Linked DNA regions of Homo sapiens: all the other regions are linked to region 3. Evidence: promoter capture Hi-C in human tissues and cell types (Jung and others, 2019). All regions are on one chromosome and are shown on one strand. The core of a region is centred on a gene start or on the middle of the fragment in contact, and the rest is flanking DNA. Distances in the headings are between cores, read along the strand shown. Region 1 holds the start of NR0B2 (nuclear receptor subfamily 0 group B member 2). Region 2 holds the start of GPN2 (GPN-loop GTPase 2). Region 3 holds the start of LOC105376888 (a long non-coding RNA gene).

Region 1 (4,253 bases), core at 1,066-3,565, 230 kb after region 3:
CACTGTGTCCAAACCAAGGAAGTCCAATGTGGGGTGTGGCTGAGTGAAGAGCTGTTCCTAAGGAGCCAAGTGCTGTCTATACAGGCTTGCCCCCTCCAGGAGCATTGGGTCACCTCTGGGGATGGCCAGGCTGAATCAGCACTGCCAGCCTCTGCCCACCTGATCTCTGCCTGGGCTGGAACAGGTCACCTGAGCAAAAGCATGTCCCCAAGAAGGCCAGCGATGTCAACATCTCCAATGATAGGGCGAAAGAAGAGGTCCCCAAGCAGGCTGGTCGGAATGGACTTGAGGGTGGAGGCCGTGAGGAGGACACGGGTCAGGCGGCCTTGGGCTGCTGGGCACCAGGGTTCCAGGACTTCACACAGCACCCAGTGAGCCTCCTGCTGCAGGTGCCCAATGTGGGAGGCGGCTTGGAGGCCTGGCACATCTGTGGGCAGAGAGGGAGAAGAGGGCTGGTGAGCACCCTACTCCCAGCCACCAAAGGACAAGACTGGCCCAAGATCTGGGCCATCAGAGACACCCCTCTGCCTCCTTTGCTCGGCCTTTGAGGTCCCACTACTACCTCCTCCTTTAGAGGAGGTAATTTATTTATCAATTTTCAATGTATTCATCCATCCATTTATGAAGAGGCAGTGTGGAGTAATGGTTAAGAATTAGGCTTCCTGGGTATGAATCCCAGCACTGTCACTTATTAGCTGGGTGACCTTGGGCAAGTCACTTAATCTCTGGGCTTCAGTTTCTTTATCTGTAAAACGGGAATAATAATATTAATAGGACCTGTCTCCTAGGCTTTTATGAGATTTAAATGAACTAGTATATGTAAAACCCTTAGAATAGGGCCTAACATATGGTAAGTGTGATATGAGTATTTGCTACTATTATTACAATTAATTACTACGATTTATGCGTGCCACAAGGGACTCCTGGGGAACTCTCATCTCAGATGCTCTCCAGATTACAAACAGCACTGTCTCCATCTGCCGCTCTCCTGGCCGAATTCCATAAAGACTCCTTTCCTGTCCTCCCTACGCCCCTTTCAGTCATCTCTTCTATGTGATCTTTCTGAACCCACAGAGGAGTTTTAGCTCTAGAGCTTCACCATGCAGCCTTCCTTTGAGGATGTGACTGAGACACAGCTGTGTCTGCCCACCCCACCTCCCCACAGCCTTCTGTAAAGGTCAGAGCAAATTTCTCAGGCAGAGTGGCAAGGGCCAGTCTCTGGAGTGAATAGACCTGAGTTGCCATCCTGGTCTGTCCCTACCTGGCTGTGTTACCTTTAGCTAGTCACTTAGCTTCTCTGTGCCTCTTCTGTGAGATGGCTATTTGATGAAAATGAGGACTGGCCAAGCACGGTGGCTCACGCCTGTAATCCCAGCACTTTGGGAGGCCAAGGTGGGTGGATCACCTGAGGGGTTAGGAGTTCAAGACCAGCTTGATCAACATGGTGAAAGCCCATCTCTACTAAAAAGTACAAAAATTAGCCGGGAGTGGTGGCGGCCATCTGTAATCCCAGCTACTCGGGAGGCTGAGGCAGAGAAAATTGCTTGAACCCAGGAGGCAGAGGTTGCAGTGAGCCAAGATCGCACCACTGCACTCCAGACTGGGTGACAGAGTGAGACTCTGTCTCAGAAAAATAAAAAGAAAATGAGGACCCAATGAGATAACAGATATCAAACCCTTAGAAGCTACCTTCCCTGGCTGGCCCCTGCTTCAGCCTTGCCCCCCACCCAGGAGTGTCTGGGAGCTCACCGGGGTTGAAGAGGATGGTCCCTTTCAGGCAGGCATATTCCTTGGGGCTAAGCTCCAGGCTCCAGAAGGACTCCAGACAGCATTGAAGCCACTGCACCGCAGCCAGGGAGGGCTGGGGTCTGTCTGGCAGTTGGCCACTGCCTCCACTGCTGCTGGGCTCCTCCAGCAGAATCTTCTTGAGTATGCTGGGCACCGGGGCCTCAGCCACCTCAAAGGTCACAGCATCTTGGGCCAACCCAAGCAGGAAGAGGGGGCCCCAGCAACCCTGCAGCAGCCGCCGCTGGTCCTGGGGAGGCAGCTGCCAGAAGGATGGCAGGTTCCTGAGGAAGGCCACTGTCTTGGCCAGAACATCCAAGGCCTCCCGGCAGGTGCGATGAGGTGCACATAGCTGGACGGGCCGGTGCTGCCTACATAGGCAGCGGCTACGGGGTCGGGGGACAGCCTTGAGGCTGGAGCTCAGAAGTGCGTAGAGAATGGCGGGGCGGCTTGCAGCTCCCTGGCATGGGCAGGCCCCTGGTTGGCTGGTGCTCATGGTTAGGGATCTGCTCTCACTTCCAGCTCTCTGGCTCTGTGTTCTGCGCTGTGGGTGCTATTTATATTCCCAGTGAGTGGAACGGGGGGAATGGCCCAACAACCTTGACTCCAGAAGTCATGTTCATTGAAAAAAACACACAGACATTGCCCCTGGCAGGAATGGTGGGGAAGTGGTGGGGGAGGGGGCATTGGGAACCCCACGTGGCACTGATATCACCTCAGTCAATGAAGTGGCCGGTGCAGGGCACAGGGCCACCTGCCGCTCACTCAGCTGCCCCTTATCAGATGACTCAAGTGGATAAACAAGGTCATTAACTCAGGCTGTACCAGGGCACCAAGGCCCCAGGTGCACAATCAGCAGGTGTCCCCATTGGTGCCCGCTCTTGTGTGCACAAAAGACTAGGGCTTTTGCTAAGCCAGGAAGCCAGCCCCAGAGCTGGGTGGGCCTTGAATGCAAGGCCCAACCTGGAAGTGCCTTATCACTAGCTTGTTTGCCTAACCTTGGGGCCCTGCTTCTGTTGTCAGCCAGAAGCAGGCTACAGGGAAGGGAGCCAGGACCCTGGGGGCTGGGAGGACTTTGCCCACTGTCCAATCTAGGAGGCCTCCTCCTCTGATTCCAGTTCTGGGCCCCCTGCAGGAATAAGGTCCTTCAGAATCCTTATCCCCAGCCTGATTCCTACCACTCCTGAAAGGCCAGGTCTGCTGAGAAGAACTCACAGAATTATAATAAAAGATAGTTGCCAGCCGGGCACGGTGGCTCATGCCTGTAATCCCAGCACTTTGGGAGGCTGAGGAAGGGGGATCATTTGAGGTCAGGAGTTCAAGACCAGCCTGGCCAACATGGCAAAATCCCGTCTCTACTAAAAATACAAAAATTAGCCGGGCATGGTGGCATGTGCCTGTAGTCCCAGCTACTCTAGAGGCTAAGGCAAAAGAATCACTCGAAACTGGGAGGCAGAGGTTACAGTGAGCTGAGATCATGCCACTGCTCTCCAGCCTGGGCAACAGAGCAAGATCCTGTCTCAAAAAAATATATATGTATATGTATATGTATATGTATATGTATATGTATATTTATATGTATATGTGTATATATATATACACATACATACATACATATATATATATATATATGTATATATATGGTTGCCATTCTCTAAGCACTTATTATGTGTCAGGCACTTCCCACTCTAATATTGGCAGCCTCTTCCTAAGGCTAGATTCTTACTTTATGAGACTAAAAAAGCTAAAGTGACTTGCCCAAGGTCATCCCACCAGGAAGACAAAGCCCAGATCTTGCCTGACTCCAAAGTCCTTGTTTGTTTCCCTGGACCCACTGGCCCAATTGCACAGCCAGAGCCTGAGATTCTCAGAGCTTGTGGCTAGCTGCCCCCACCTTGCTGCTGCCTGCTTTGCAGACGTTGCCCACTTGTGATCTGGGCAGAAGTGTTGCTCTGCTGCCACGTGGCTCCTCTGTCCCGGGCATCTTTCTCAGATGGTGGAGCACAGGGGATGAGAGAAGGTGGAGAGGCCCTTGGTTGTGTCATGTTCCTGGACCTTGGCCAGTCCAGTGTGGCAAGCCTTCTGCTGCATGCTGTTGGGCAGCCTGGTGCCCTGGATGGGGAGAGAGAGGCTCTGGCATCACTAGCCCTGGCATCTGCTCCAGAATCCATCACTTTTTGGTTATGTGACTTGGGTTGATCCTTGAACCTCGATAAGCCTCCCTGGGACAATAATGCCTGGCTGTAGGGCTGCCATGGGGACAAAATGAGGTCCTGGTTGTTAAATTCCAAGTGGTTTCTGGCATACGGTAGGAGGATTTTTCTGCCCCTTTCCTCTGTGGAGCTGAGCACCAGTGGACAAACAGGCACACCTCTTTCATTTGATTATTAGTCTTAATCCTTAAATTTATAAAGTTCCTTTCATGTTTTTAAATCTCACTGAATTCTCACAGTGTCCCCTTGAAGCAG
Region 2 (4,384 bases), core at 1,693-4,192, 200 kb after region 3:
CTGGGCTCCCTGGCAGCTCTATCCTAAAGTAAGCTGAGGACTCTACATCACTCCATGTCCAGACTAGAAGCTAACTGGCCTCCCTGGACAAGGTCCCGACACCTCCCTTTCCCAACAACCTCCCTATTGCTCATGTGCTGGTCATTTTATCTGTCTTCTCTAGGTTCCTTTGTTGCTAGAGATGCTATTTAGGGAACAATGTCCCCAGTTCAGGAGAGTACTAATTTTTTTTTTTTTTTGAGACAGAGTCTTGCTCTGTCGCCCAGGCTGGAGTGCACTGGCATGATCTCGGCTCACTGCAAACTCCCTCTCCTGGGTTCACGCCATTCTCCTGCCTCAGCCTCCTGAGTAGCTGGGACTACAGGTGCCCGCCACCATGCCCAGCTAATTTTTTGTATTTTTAGTAGAGACGGAGTTTCACAGTGTTAGCCAGGATGTTCTCAAGCTCCTGACCTCGTGATCCACCTGCCTCGGCCTCCCAAAGTGCTGGGATTACAGGCGTGAGCCACTGCGCCTGGCCTAATTTTTTTTTTTTGAGACGGAGTTTCACTCTTATTGCCCAGGCTGGAGTGCAATGGCGAGATCTCGGCTCACTACAACCTCCGCCTTCCAGGTTCAAGCGATTCTCCTGCCTCAGCCTCCCGAGTAGCTGGGATTACAGGCATGCACCACCATGCCTGGCTACTTTTTTGTATTTTTAGTAGAGATGTGGTTTCTCCATGTTGGTCAAGCTGGTCTCGAACTCCTGACCTCAGGTGATCTGCCCACCTCGGCCTCCCAAAGTGCTGGGATTACAGGCGTGAGCCACCACGCCCAGCCGAGAGTACTAATTTATCAAGAAAAAAAAGCTGGCCACTGGGACTCTAGCCAACTCCCCTGCCTCATACCAGCCTGCTTCTACCTCAATCTTCCCTATTTTGTCCCTGGCCTCCCACCCCTTCTCTGTCTCTGTGCCAGGTGAGAATATAGCCTCCTTCTGTGAGGACAGAAGGAGGCTGTCTAGGAGCCAGGAAGCAGACTCTCACCAGACACCAGATCGGCTTGTGTCTTGATCTTGGACTTACCAGCCTCCAGAACTGTGAGAAATAAATATTTATTGGCTAAGCCATCTGGTCTATGGTATTTTTGTGATGGCAGCACAAACTGACTAAGACAAGGCCTTTATTCCTACTAGTGCCTCTGCATAGAACAGTCCTCCCTTGGCTGGCTCCTTCTCACCATTCATGTCTCAGCTCAGATGCCACTGCTTCAGAGCAGAAGTGAGAAACTGAGGTCCAGAGAGATGAACTGACTTACCCAGACCACACGATGATTCAGTGGCAGATCCAGAATTTAAACTCATGCCTGTTTTACTCCAAAGCTCACTCACTTCACTCCCAAATATTCACTGTCGTATCACTTTAATTCCTTTGTAACACCTAACACCATCTGTAGCTCTCTTGTCTCCAAAATCTACAACGGTAACTAGCACAGAGTGGCACAAAATAAATGGGCAGGAGTTAGAACCTGCCTGTGGCTACTATCACCAGACCACGCAAGGCACCAGAGGCAGCTACCTTCAGCTGAGATGTCTGCTTCATTCTAGCCCAGCTGCTGCCCTGCTCTTCGCCTGGAACAGAAGCTCTTACCCAGCTTCCCATAATGCTCAATGAGGTCCATCTTGGAAAGGAGGTTGATGTGGGGCAGTTCCACGTGCAGCATGGTGGCCAGGGAGGTACACAGTACTGAAATGAACTTGGCAGGGTCTGTGCAGTAGTGAGAATCCACGAGGTGGACGGCAGTCAGCTGGGAGGGAATAGACAGGGTGAGAGTGGCCTGGAGAAACAGGGATCAGCATTCCCTCATGAGAATGAGGGCTTGAGGACAGAGGGGAAGCTTTCCCCATTAGTCTCCTGCCTCTGTTTCTTTCTAATAACCACCCTGGTTTCCTTCTCCCAGGAAATAGGAGTCATTTTTTTTTTCTTACAAGAGGTCTTGCACTGAGCCTCCCAGTGGGCAAGGGGTTTAAATCCCATGGCATCTGACTCCACTCTTTCATTTACTTTTGCCCACCAATTTACAACAATCTCCATGCCACTTTCGACATTAACCCCTTCCATACTTCCAAAATCGCCAAGTTGGCTACTAACACATTTTACACGTGAGGAAACTGAGGTTCAGAGTGATGAACTGACTTATCAACACCACACAGCCAGTCAGTAGCAGAGCCAGATTCTGAACTCATGCCTGTTTTACTCCAAAGCGACCCAGCCCCTACCTCCCTGTGTGACATGGGGGCGTGGCGTCTGTCCTCCCTGTCTCAGTTACTCCATCCGCAAAATGGGCCTCCCCGCCCTGAGACGCACCCTGAGGTCCCACTGCGCCATTTGGGAGAAGATGCTGCGCAAGGCGCCGTGATGCGTGCAGAGCTCCACCTGGCCTGGGCAGTCGAAGAGGAAGTAGTGGCCGCGGAGGGGGTCGAGCTTGGCACGCAGCCAGTCCAGGTTGGCTTCCAGGTACTCCATGCAGTAGAGCAGGCCGCCGTTGGGCCCCAGGCGCAGCGCGTCCATCACGTCGCCCAGCCCCACCAGCTCGCCCACGTCCACGGCACACTCGTACGGCAGCCCCTCGTTGGCCGGGTCCAGGTTCACCACCGCCACGCGCCGGCCCAGCGCGCGCAGGAACTCACTCATGCCCAGGCAGTACGTGGTCTTCCCTGAGCCCGGCGGGCCGATCACCGCCTGCCCGAAGGCCGTGGTCGGAGCGGCCCCTGCCATTGGCGGCCCGCGGCCCGGAGCAGGTCAACTCACAGGGAAAACGGGGCAGGTAGCCGCGCCGGAGACGAGACTGAGGGCGAGGGTCCCAGTACGTATACCTCGTTGGCGGCCAGCGTCACTCGCCTCAGGCGGAACAGCTGAGACCGTGTCGCGCAAAAGGAGATAACAGGCCGATACTAACTAGACTAACTCGACTTCCGGACAGCGTCGGAAACGGCGAGCCAACGAGAGGAAGTCCCGCCCTCACGGCGGGGACGAAGCTAGACGCCGAGGGGCGGGCGGCGCAGCCGCATTTCTCTCGCGGGTAGTGGGTCGAATGTGGGGTCTTTGCGGGAAAATCGCTCTCGGAATTTCTCTAACCTTCAGACTCGAATTAGAAAAGTAAGGGAGCTCCAGTAGTAAACGTCTTTATTCTTCCGTGACGTCGCACACCCAAGCCACCTCCCGCGGACTCTCCGCTGGCAGTCCCACCCAGTGAGGGTAGAGGCGGTGGAGGGCCCACCCAAGGCCGGCTCTTCCAAGCACCACAAATCCTCTCCTCGCCCAGGTCCCTTTCCCCCTTTCTGGCCTTCGTGGGGACACCTTCAGAGTCCCCAAGGAAGGCTGTGCTGATAGCCTCACTCAACCCAGCTTTTCAAAGTTCTGCAGGAGGCAAAGGGCAAGCCCAGAGATTAGGGTTAGAGACCAAAGACAAGCGGTCGTTACCCCTAATATCCAAGGGGAGGGGACGGGAGGGGGCTTTTTGTAAAAATGCCCCTGAGGTATAGAACCGGCAGGCAGGCAGGCTCGGAACAAAACACCCTGAACCAGCCACGAAGACTGCTGCTCCCAGACTCCTTTCTGCTTCAGTGGTAGATGAGGCCAGGGCAGAGGGTTTTCATCATGTAGCTATGAAAGGAAGCCCCCAACCCGGTCAGTCAGGCAATGAGGGGCTGTCTGAAGCACAACTGGAACCCCTCACAAAGGCCATGTCTGTCCGAAACTTCATGCTGGTGGGTGGCTGGCGGCGGAGCAGTGACTCCGTCTGGTCTTGGGGTAGAGGCTCATCATAGATGGTGGAGATGAGCCCCAAGCCATTTCTACGGGGCCTCTTCAGTTGCCCAAATGGCTGTAGCTTCTCTCCATGGTACCTGGATAAAAACGGGCTCTCAGTGAGAAGGCTGCTCTCAAACTCCAGTTAAAGGGGTTGGGAGAGGACGGGGAAGTAGTTACTACATATCTGGTTTGTCCAAAGACAGAGGCTTTAAATCTGGGTCTTTGTTCTCCAGCCCTCTTATCTATCCATTGACAGTGCCAGCAAGAAGGGGCCTCATATAAAATTTTCATTCTGTCACTACAGACTTCCTAATAGTAACCATCAAGTCCAAACTCCTCCAACAAAGGGTATGAATGATCTTGTTAAGCCTTAGGGCTTACTCTTTAAAAAAAAAAAAAAAGTCAGATTTACTTTATTTATTTATTTATTTCTGAGATGGGGTCTCACTATGTCACCCAGGCTGGATTGTAATGGCGTGATCTCGGCTCACTGCAACCTCCACCTCCTGGGTTCAAGCGATTCTCCTGCCTCAGCCTCCAGAGTAGCTGGGACTACAGGCGCATGCCACCATGCCCAGCTAATTTTTTTTTTT
Region 3 (4,298 bases), core at 400-2,899:
TAGGGCATAAGCCTTTAACTTTCCTTTCCTCATCTCCTACTCCCACTCACTTCCAAGAAGAACACCTCTGTAGAGTTTTCATCTGTCTTTGTAGTACTCCATTCCTGTAAATTCCTTCTCCACGTTTTTGCTATTTCATTTAGTTTGGAAAATGGCAGTGTGGAATATGTTTGGTATAACCTTAATCCTGGCCAGCGTCTCTGATCCCTAAAAAAAAAAGTATACATACATATATATATATATAAAAATATATATATATTTAGAGAGAGAGCGAGTGTGTGTTTTCTGGGGTTAAAAACACAGAAGTAAAAACCTTAAACACAATAGAAAACAAACCTCCCTTATTATCCAGGTCCCCTGCATATTTTTAGTTGTTTAGAAAATGTTTCTCCTGGGTCGGGCATGGTGGCTCATGCCTGTAATCCCAGCACTTTGGGAGGCCAAGGCGGGTGGATTACCTGAGGTTGGGAGTTCGAGACCAGCCTGACCAACATGGAGAAACCCCCGTCTCTACTAAAAATACAAAAATTAGCCTGGCGGGGTGGCGCATGCCTGTAATCCCAGCTACTTGGGAGGCTGAGGCAGGAGAATCGCTTGAACCTGGGAAGTGGAGGTTGTCGTGATCCAAGATCGGGCCATTGCACTCCAGCCTGGGCAACAAGAGTGAAACTCCATTTCAAAAAACAGAAAAAAAGAAAATGTTTCTCCTGTTGTTCCTGTTAAATATTTCTCATATTTTGGCATCACACACAAAAATATGATGCCAGAGGTTTGTGTGTATGTGTGTGCATGTGTGTGGTGGAGGTGAGGGGGAGACTTGGTCCTATAGCACGGTGTGCAATGGTGAAGAACCTACTAAATTAATTAATCTTCACATTAGCAGATAACTGAGAATATGAATCACTCACAGGCAGTCAAAAGGTGATGTCAGTGAACAGTTATGGCACAGCATGACTGCTCCTGTTTGACACTGCATTTAGTCCTAGCACTACTGCTATTGCAGGGCTCTCCTATGAATTTTATTGTGGAATTTCAGAAATTTCTACTGCCAGTTGGGTGCAGTGGCTCATGCCTGTAATCCCAGCACTTTGGGAGGCCAAGGTGGGAGGATCATTTGAGCCCAGGAATTCAGACCAGCCTGGGCAATATGGCGAACCCTGTCTCTACGAAAAAATTTTTAAAAATTACCTGGATGTGGTGGCACATGCCTGTAGTCCCAGCTATTAGGGAGGCTGAAGCAGGAAAACCACCTGAGTCCAGGGAGGTCAAGGCTGCAGTAAGCCATGGTCACACCACTGAACTCCAGCCTGGGCAACAGAGTGAGACCCTGTCTCAAAAAATAAATAAAATAAAGTAAAATAAAATTCTACTGCCAAGTAGTAGCTAAATGTAATTCCCCCCCCCCGACCCCCCACCCAAGACAGAGTCTTGCCCTCGGGTGCAGTGGCACTATCTCAGCTCACTGCAACCTCTGCCTCCTGGGTTCAAGCAATTCTCCTGCCTCAGCCTCCCAAGCAGCTGGGATTACAGGCACCCGCCACCACGCCCAGCTAATTTTTCCATTTTTAGTAGACAGGGCTTCACCATGTTGACTGAGCTGGTCTCAAACTCCTGACCTCAGGTGATCCGCCCGCCTTGGCCTCCCGAAGTGCTGAGATTACAGGTGTAAGCCACAGTGCCCGGCGCTAAATGTAATTTCTATAGCATTAATAAGTATTCCAGGAGGTAGTTAAATCAAGGAACAAGGTACTTAATGAAGTTTTAAAATACAGCTTTGGAATGGTTATTATTAGCAATCATCATACTGTTAATTTCTAGTTGAAAGAATAACAGGCTCACAAAAATTTCTAAGTCTTAGGAGAAGACCGATTTTGGTGGAAAGTGGGTCAGAAGAGCATGTGCAACTCAAGGATTGCTGAGGATGAACAAGTGCATAGGGTAAAGTTGCTTCATCATGAAAGGTGAGTATTTAGGGTAGAGACTGCGGTCTTGGTCTACATTACTTGGTTGAGATTATAAAATGGTTTCTGTCGACCCTCTCTACAATCAGTGACAAATTGTACTAATAATGATGGACTCCTAAAAACCCTCAGTAGCCAATCAGGTTGCAACCTCCTTCACCTTGAAGCTTTTTCCTAGAGAATATTTTCTTTCCGAAGGTTGTGTGGTACTTCCACTCTCCTTGATTCCACCTTGGAAACACTGGCTACTACTTCATAAAGAACTGGAAGGTAGGTGTGGTGGAGTCAACTAGAATCCCTCTTTTCTAAACCCTTTGGACTTCCAACTTTATCTGGGCTAAAGGGGCAAACACGTTAGCCACAAACTCGGGTTTTTGTTAGACAGAGTATCCATATTTTATTTATTTATTTATTTATTTAATTTTTTGAGACGGAGTCTCGCTCTGTCACCCAGGCTCGAGTGCAGCGGCGTGATCTCGGCTCACTGCAAGCTCTGCCTCCCGGGTTCACGCCATTCTCCAGCCTCAGCCTCCTGAGTAGCTAGGACTACAGGCGGCCGCCACCACGCCCAGCTAATTAGAGTATCCATATTTTTAAGTAGCTGTGAGTGATTAGGAGAAAAATACTTCAATGAGCTCTTGGGCTTTGTTCTGAAGTCGAAAGGGCCTAGTAAAAATGTGTAATCTCCATCCTGGTTTTGGTGTTTGGGGCAAAAATAGTGCCTAATGTTGCACAACACTGTGTGCTCTTGAGTGTAGTTTGCGGATGAGTTATATTAATGAATACACATTGTGATAGAGGTGTGTGTGTGTGTTTCCGTGCTTTTTTTTTTTTTTTTTTTTTTGGAGACGGAGTCTCATTCTGTTGCCCAGGCTGGAGTGCAGTGGCACAATCTCGGCTCACTGCAACCTCTGCCTCCTGAGTTCAAGCGATTTTCTCCTGCCTCAGCCTCCTGAGTAGCTGGGATTATAGGTGCCTGCCACCATGCGCAGCTAATTTTTGTGCTTTTAGTAGAGACGGTGTTTCACTATGTTGGCCAGGCTGGTCTCGAACTCCTGACCTCAAGTGATCTGCCAGCCTCGGCCTCCCGTATTGTTTTTAAATGGCTTGTTGGATAGGCTTGATGAAGTGTGCTGGATTATTTCCTCCATTGTCTCCTGTTCTCTCCCTCCCACAGCAAGACTAGAAGAGCAACAACACACTTCTATACAGGTCTCTAGTAGTCTCTTTGGAGGGGTAGGCCAATAAGAACCAACCTGCTGGTCCCTACCCCCAACCCCTCTGGTGACTTCTGAATCCAGTTTCAATATTGTTAAATTTCAGGGAAGAAAGTGATAATGTGGAAAAGTGCCAAAACTCAGTCTGATTTTTCCTGGCAGCTTTCCCTTGGTGTCATTGGTAAGTTCCGCATTTCACTGGAGTGGAGTGCCACACTGCTACTATGACTATAGTAGTCACTCCCACGCCTGACTTTTTTGTTTGGTCCATTTTATCTTTAGGAATAGGCATTTTCTGTAGGGATAGATGGGTTTAAACCCTATTAAAGCTAGTCAGAATGTTTTTCATTAGGGGCCACTCAATTCCTGTCTTATACCTAATAGATTTCTTTGGATTTTCTTTGATTCTTATACAAAAACACCCAGTATCATCATGCTGGAGGATTCTCTTAAGGTGGTTGCTTTGCAGAGAACAGACAGCACATTTGCTTTTTTAGCCACCTATCCTATTTCATAGGACTGCATGCCTGCCTCCCTCCATTTTGTCTGTGCTTACACTGTTTTTTCCTTCTCTTTCCAACTCTTCTACAGAACTTGTGTTGGAATAAAAGACTCCATTCCAGATCCATTCCAGAGTTGCTGTGAGAAACTTCCCCACTGACTCTTTTTCCTAACTCAGTAAAATGGCAGTGTAAGAAAGCTTTATGCAGGCAAGGGCTGAAAGAAATCTCCACCTAGAATACAGTGTTTGATTTTTCCTTCTGATTTTCTTGTCAACTCTCAAAAACTTCCCTTATAATCATTTTATATGTGTGAAATTTCCCTAGGTTGGTTTTAAAGAACAAAACAAAACAAAAGCAACCTACATTGGTTTAACATGGGAAATCCTAGATAACAGACTTTTCCTGTTCCTGGGCAATAGCCTTCTGTGCTAAGATTGGTGACCTTACCTTGGTAATATTGTTGGTGCTTAGCCTTCCAGATCTAAAAACAGCTTAGTGTAATAAGTACCAAGCACAAAATTGTTAAGTTTCTCTTTTGATTGACTATGAAGAGGCTATCAAGCTTTTTTTTGTTTTGTTTTGTTTTTTGTTTTTTGAGACGGAGTCTCCCTTTGTTG

What was found. The method cuts DNA at HindIII sites, captures the fragments that hold promoters and counts their contacts. A contact is called where the count stands out against the background at its distance.
Region 1: a contact is called between the fragment with the promoter of NR0B2 here and a fragment that was not itself captured in region 3, in 1 of the 25 tissues and cell types used here (stomach).
Region 2: a contact is called between the fragment with the promoter of GPN2 here and a fragment that was not itself captured in region 3, in 4 of the 25 tissues and cell types used here (dorsolateral prefrontal cortex, hippocampus, mesenchymal stem cells and 1 more).

What each region holds. Positions count from the first base shown.
Region 1 is chr1:26,911,660-26,915,912 of GRCh38, forward strand. NR0B2 (nuclear receptor subfamily 0 group B member 2) reads right to left here and starts at 2,316. Exons shown (of 2, transcript NM_021969.3): 1 at 1,750-2,316; 2 at 1-427. The coding sequence starts at 2,281. The coding sequence ends at 186. It also overlaps a transcript of NUDC not described here. RefSeq lists an enhancer at 3,783-4,253. The HindIII fragment of the contact is 33,061 bases long and covers 1-4,253 here.
Region 2 is chr1:26,887,341-26,891,724 of GRCh38, forward strand. GPN2 (GPN-loop GTPase 2) reads right to left here and starts at 2,943. Exons shown (of 5, transcript NM_018066.4): 1 at 2,346-2,943; 2 at 1,629-1,785. The coding sequence starts at 2,756. It overlaps GPATCH3 (G-patch domain containing 3), which reads right to left. Exons shown (of 7, transcript NM_022078.3): 7 at 3,148-3,886. The coding sequence ends at 3,670. RefSeq lists enhancers at 2,104-2,981, 2,337-2,506, 3,017-3,286. The HindIII fragment of the contact is 5,015 bases long and covers 222-4,384 here.
Region 3 is chr1:26,687,007-26,691,304 of GRCh38, forward strand. LOC105376888 (a long non-coding RNA gene) reads left to right here and starts at 2,176. Exons shown (of 3, transcript XR_001737950.2): 1 at 2,176-2,231; 2 at 3,285-3,359; 3 at 3,770-3,806. The HindIII fragment of the contact is 5,506 bases long and covers 1-4,298 here.